Linked DNA regions of Homo sapiens: region 1 is linked to region 2. The links are contacts of gene promoters, found by promoter capture Hi-C in human tissues and cell types (Jung and others, 2019). All regions are on one chromosome and are shown on one strand. Each heading gives the region's core, a stretch centred on a gene start or on the middle of the fragment in contact. The rest is flanking DNA. Distances are from core to core; before and after follow the strand shown.

Region 1 (3,180 bases), core at 380-2,879, 720 kb after region 2:
CGTGCCCCTTTGCTACCTTTCTCTATGCCCCATACACACTCAGCAGCAGATGACGTCATTCAGAACTTTTACTAAGAATAAAGAGTTCGGTTGGGCATGGTGGCTCACACCTGTAATCCCAGCACTTTAGGAGGCCGAGGCGGGTGGATCACCTGAGGCCAGGCGTTCGAGACCAGCCTGGCCAACATGGCGAAACCCTGTCTCTACTAAAAATACAAAAATTAGCCAGGCGTGATAGCGGGGGCCTGTAGTCCCAGCAACTCCAGAGGCTGAGGCAGGAGAATCACTTGAACCTGGAAGGCAGAGGTTGCAGTGAGCCGAGATGGAGCCACTGCACTCCAGCCTGAGAGATGGCGCGAGACTCTGTCTCATAAAAAAAGAAAAAAAAAAAGAGAGAGAGAATACAGAGTTCATCTAAAGTGAATTCCTAAGGGCCTTCTCTTGGGCTTCAGCCCTCTTGTTTTCCTCAAAAATGAAGGGTTTGACACTGTTGAATCTCTTGCCATTCCCATTCCTCCTATTCTCCTACTTTTTTACTCCTACGGACTCTGACCCTCACTTTTTTGAAAGTCTCTTATTCTGTGCTGATGTGGTCACGTAGTTTGTTCCTTCTGTATCTGATAACACTCCTCCTCTAAATTTAGGAGGTCAGAGATATTCATTGATTACCCATTGTCTACACATATATTGTCCAAACTTTTTAGCATTCAGGACTTTTCATAATCCAGTTACTTTTCACCATTATCTTCTACACTCTTATGCTGTGCAGCCTCCAGATAAAATAATTACTTGTCCATGCATGGGAAATACAATGCTACCAAAATACATTTTATGGTGTTAAGAAATAACCAGTATTTTTTGTGTTCCGCAGAGTCATGGCTTCCTGAGCAAAAACTACCAGCAACTTGGGTTAACAACAAGTTGATCAACAGCCACGCCTTGGAAGTTGGAGACAGTGAATTACTCCTGAGAGATTTACAGGTTTATTTGCCTCTGGGTTTCTTTATTTACAGTTCAAATGGTAATAAATTCCTGAGCCTAACATTTATATTTTAAAGAGCTATAACATCTAGGACCTTTTGCTTTTTTTCCAACAGAGGATTTCTTTGCATTAAAAACATAAGGTTTCCCTCCTTCCCCCTAAAAAGGAGGGAGCACCTGAACCAACATTTGAATAGGTTGTATAGGAACCAGCAGTTCCTATATAAGCACTTGCATTCACAATTTGGGAGTTCTTCCATATTGTATTCTCCTTCTACACCTCTGTACATCCAGGGTGACATCTGCTCCCATAGAATCACCCAAAGGGGAAACGGGGGACTGGAAAACCAACACCAAGATATCCTATAAGTAAACAATCAGCGTGTCTCTGACCCAGAAATCTTGTATTTGTTCTCAGGAGAAAATAAGTAACCTTACATATTAGAAACTTATCAAACGGAATTGTTCCAAAGAAATTCATTTAAATGCTTTGTATAAGGTGAGAATGAGAATTCTTTCACTTCATGTAGAACGTGTTTTTATTCAGGACTTTTTCAGTTCATTTAGAATATGTTTATGCTTAGCTTTTTATATAAAACTGAGTTATCTATAAAATGGTGGTGAAAGTACTTTCCCACTTTCTCAACATTTGGGAGTTATTTGTATATAAACGGATTGTTAATTATTGAAATGACATTGCAAGTGACTCTCTATCCCCCTCCTCGCCAGATCATCTATTCAACTTACAATTTCTGTTGAAGTTCTTAACCTGAGAAGGTTGTTAAGAAACCCATAGCATGGAATCTCCTGATTTGGAAGGGAATATCTTTCCCATCATTCTATTTTTTGCCATGATGGCTGCAGGAAACTGTGCAGAGAAGACGGTTCTGCACAGAAGCACTGTGGATACGAGCGACACTGTTAGGACCCTCTTGCTTTTATGTTTATATTCTCTTAGAGAAATTAGAATGTTTGGGGATTTTTATTTTCATTCTCCTTGAGAAACTGGAATGCCATTAATTTATGCCTTTATAAATATTTCTGGAAGAAGCCAGACCGCTTTGCCAATCATCAGAACTGCCATTTATTTCCCATATTGGGGAGTTCATTTTCCCACCCCTTTAGGCTTCTAAGCTTTGCTGGCTGCATTTGCAATCCAGTCCTTTTAAATCCTTATCTTGAGTGATGACTTATAACAGCTCCTAAATCGGGATGTTGGTTGAGGAAGGAATAATTCAGATTAAAAAAATCTGAGAAATAAGGCATCTTGATTAGCAATCAGCCTTACAAACATTATCTTACTTTAGGATCTCAGGCATGAAACTTCAAGTCTGCTTCAAGTTCATTTATTTCTTCAACCTCCTATCTTCAACCAGTCAGGAGTGAGCTGTTCCCTGCCACACAGACTGAATTTTTATATCCAAGACTTTTGAGATGATCAAAATCTTTCCAATCTAAAAGTGTTCTGAAAGAGAAACGTGAACAATTTTAGATTAATAGCAATAAGGAAAAAATAAATAAACAAAGAAGTGCAACACTCCATGAGTTGCCTCTGGAGCCCGCCTGCTGTGCGGGAGCTGCCTGCCCTCAAATCCCTGTCCTCACGTGATGACTCCCCATCCTTTCTTCAGTCACCTTGGGCAGGTCTCTCTACCAACCTCCTGTTTCCACCCCTCAAACAGGGCCCAGTCCTGTGGAAAACCAATTCACAAAGCACTTTCACTTCTCATGTGAACTGAACCACTCAGAGTGGTTGGTAGGATATGTATCATCACTCTTAACTTTCAGAAAAGGAAGTAGACTGGAGAAAGTCACACAGCAGTTCAGTGGGGAGCTGGTATTTTGGATTCTAATCCCAGAGCTCTTTCTCCTCTACCACACTGTCCTGTTGGCCAGTTTTCTGTTTTCTTTCCTCAGGAACTCTGCTATTTACCAGGATACGAACTTAGTTAATTTGTATTACCTCTCAAAGTCAAGGATTGCTCATTTATAAAATCAAAATAATATAAATACCAAACAGCAAAAAAGAACACAAAACTGGCCTGGTTAATTAAGAAAAAAGTAAATACATTGAAATATGTCAGGAGTTGCATTAAATACAAATAGACTGAATGCTTCAATTTAAAAATTAAGATTATTAGTCTGAATTGAAAAGAAGAAACCATCTATGGCCATACCACCCTGAACACAACTGATCTT
Region 2 (3,272 bases), core at 564-3,063:
TAAGAAACATCTGGGAAACTGAATAGCGAGGTTAGCCAAGGTTATCTTTCAGTAGAAAACGAGAACAACTTTCTAAGAGAACAAATGTCTATAACACATTCTCTTCAAAGTCAAATATGTAATTTTCTCACTCTCCTTAAAAACATTAAACTTTCAGTGGAAGACGTAAGTCAAAAGCCCATGAATTGTTGCCGATTGCTATGGTTTCCTTTTCTGAGTCATCAGAGACACCTGTCAAGAGGCCTCAGCCTCTCATCCAGAGCAGGCTTTTCAAGCTGCCAACCCAGTCTCAAATAATCATTACCATAAACACGGGTTCCTATTACACCCGTTGCAAAAAGGCTTAAAACGCCGATAATAGCGCACCAATATTATTTCAACAGTTTTGACCGGCGCGTTAAAATGAACTTCAATGCTGAGCCACATTATAAAGGGTTGAGTCAAGCTCCTGATTGTGTAAGATAGCATTTCCCTTAAATGAGCACTTCTCTTCTTTCCTCAGAAGCTAGGCTTCTTTTCAAATTAAAGAAAATACTCCACCCCTCAAAAACCTGGCATATTCTCGGTTCCCTTTACGCTTATTCACACCAGAAACGCTGAATCATGACTCCGAGGTTGTAAAAGAAAAACTATTTCGGCTGGGGCCCCAGGGTCCCTGGAGAAGCCTAGGCTCTGCGTTACCTCTCTCTGCACCTTCTAAAGTCTAGATCCAGAGAAGTCTGGCAGATTGGAGAGCCTCTGGGAGCAGCCAAGGGTGCAAGGCGGGGGCTGGGGGGCTCGGGAGAGTTTTCTGCTCCCTCTCCTGAACCCACGCAGCCCTGTCAGCTCAAGGCTCCCGCCTCGTCTCATCTGAACGAAACCCTTAAGGGGCTGATACACTTCTCATCTGCAAAGCTGCCCAACAGCCTCCGAGAAATTCTCTACTTGGAAGCATCGCCACCACCGCCACCCCTCCGGAACCCTCTGGGTCCGCGCTAGTCCCACTTGGTCACGATCCGGCAGGCGAAGGGGTGCGGAGGCGGTTTCACCAGCCCGCTCCCAGCCCTGCCTCGAGAGAGAAGCCCGCTGAGAGGGCAGACAGTTGAGAAACTCGATCCCAACTCCCCAGCCGGCGCCTCCCGAACCGCCCCGAGAGCCCAGATTAGCCGGGCAGTGGATCCCGGAGCAAAGTGCCATGCACATCCTGGAGAGGAGGGAGGCGTGGAGGGAAAGGGCGGCAAAAATGAAATGCCCCCAAGTCAGTCCCGCAACTTCTCCCGGTCCGAGGGACGGGCGGAGGGTAGAGGAGGCAGCGGCGGCTAGCGCGAGGTGAGGGACTCACTTGAAGGTGAGGACGCAGAGCGGCCGGTAGGACTTGTGGCTGGTGTTCTCGGCCATGCCCTTGCCCCAGAAGTCGTTGGTGAAGATGCCCCAGCGGAGCGGGGCGCCGGGCCGCACGTCGGGGTTGTTCACGATCGCCCACACGTCGTCGTGCACGAACTCGCCCTGCAGGGAGCGGCCGTAGCACAGGCAGCTTGCCCCGGCCAGCAGCGCCGCGGCCCCGGCCGGCGCTAGCCCGCAGCCCCGCCGCCGGGAGGGTGTGCGGTCCCCGCCGCCGCCTCGGGCAGAGGTGGTCACCACCATCGCGCCGCCGCCGCCGCTGCTGCCCTGGCCTCTCCCGGGCGTCTGGCATCCTCCCCTACCGGGGCCCCGGCGGCGCGCGGCGTCTGCCCGGAGGGGGGCTCGGGCATGGTGCTGCGGCAGCTGGACCCGCCGCGAGCTCCCCGCGCTCCGCCGCCGCCTGCGCCGCGGAGTTGGCCCAGCTGCAAATAAACAGCAGTCCCCCCGCCTCCCCCGGCCATCGCCACCTCCTCCGCCCCACTGCGCATGCCCGCTCGCTCTCTCTTCCACCGCCCCCCAATCCCGGGACGCGGGCCGGTTCCCCCGCACAGCCCGGCGCCCTCTGCCCCCGGCCCGCCTTGCTTGCAGGTGGACCGGGGTTCGCGGCGCGCGGCTGCCCGGGAGCTGCGGGGAAGGACACCCCAGGTTCCCACTTGCGGTGTCCGGCTGTGCTCACCCCCACGCCCCCGCCCCCATCCTTCTCCCCCGAATGGGGCTGGGAAGGGGCACATCTGGCGGACCCCTCCCGGGGGACCCAGGAGGGTTTAGCAGGTGCGCAGTCTGGAACCCCCACACCCACCTTCCAGGGAGAAAAGTGCCGCTGCTTCCCGGGAAGTTCCCGGCTTTTCAGCACCCGGGACAACAGCAGCGGCGCCCGGAGAGACGCTCTCCACCCGCCCCGCGCTCGCGTCCAGTCGCCGGCTCTGTGCTCTCCTGCCCGGGCTTTCTCTCACCCGCCCGGCGCGGCGTCCCGCTTGGCGGAGGAACCCGCGGGGATAGGGAGCACCTTCCTCAAAGCCAGGAGAAGGGGTCTCCCTGGACAAGGACATCCTGCTCGCCCTGCCCGGGTGTGTTCAGAGGCGCCACCGGCTCTTTAACTTTACAGCCCCTTTCTTGGCCCGCACTTACAAAAAGTACCAGGTTCGAGTTTTGGTTTGGGCCTGGGAGCCGAATTGTCTTCTGAAACATTTCTTATTTTATTGTTTGCTCAAGATAATTTGGGAGATGCCAAGCAAACTACTTTTTCTATCTAGCTGGATCACTTGGGTCTCATTATTTCCTGGGCTGTGGGCGTGTTTGAACAGGGCGGGGAAGAAGGTGGGGATGGGGGGATGGGGAGGTGGGGGCGATTTGTATTAGGGCCTCTGGCTTTGGCTCCTAAACTTCCTGTCTTTCTGAAAGATTGTTTTCTTTTTTAAAATACTAATTTTAATAATATGTCCCAGAGTGATGATTACTAGAATTTCTCCAGGTCTGAAAATTCTATTTGTTCTTTCAGGCACCTTCTAAATTTCCATTGCTGAGTGTTAGAAGTTATCAGGAATTTGACACATCCAGATAGAAAAACTGAAAATAAAAAGTCACCCTTTTATTCTCATCCTCCCCAAACCCTTAAAAAGCTCACCGACATAATCCAGAAATTGTTCCTCTGCTATGAGTATTTGTGTGGCTCTTTACTATAACAACTTACTTTTTAAAAAATTTTAAGACATCTGAGCAGTTGAAAAGTCAATGAATTAAGATAAACTTATTGTAACTCAAAGTACGTTTCACCCATTTTCACTTTGTTTATTTGGTGACTTGAAATTAGTGACTGAGAAATGAAACTGGAAGTCCTGGACATGGATGTTTTCATTCTTCCATCAAAATCTTTCACGCTTGGTAACCTTAAT

The links. Contacts are between HindIII fragments. The study calls those that stand out against the background at their distance.
Region 1: a fragment that was not itself captured here is called in contact with the fragment with the promoter of TMTC1 in region 2 in 1 of the 25 tissues and cell types used here (dorsolateral prefrontal cortex).

Annotation. Positions count from the first base shown.
Region 1 is chr12:30,500,955-30,504,134 of GRCh38, forward strand. It overlaps the pseudogene LOC100422352. Among named protein-coding and RNA genes, the nearest start is that of IPO8, 190 kb to the right of the region's middle. The HindIII fragment of the contact is 6,385 bases long and covers 1-3,180 here.
Region 2 is chr12:29,782,129-29,785,400 of GRCh38, forward strand. It overlaps TMTC1 (transmembrane O-mannosyltransferase targeting cadherins 1), which reads right to left and starts at 1,814. Exons shown (of 18, transcript NM_001193451.2): 1 at 1,322-1,814. The coding sequence starts at 1,623. The HindIII fragment of the contact is 32,748 bases long and covers 1-3,272 here.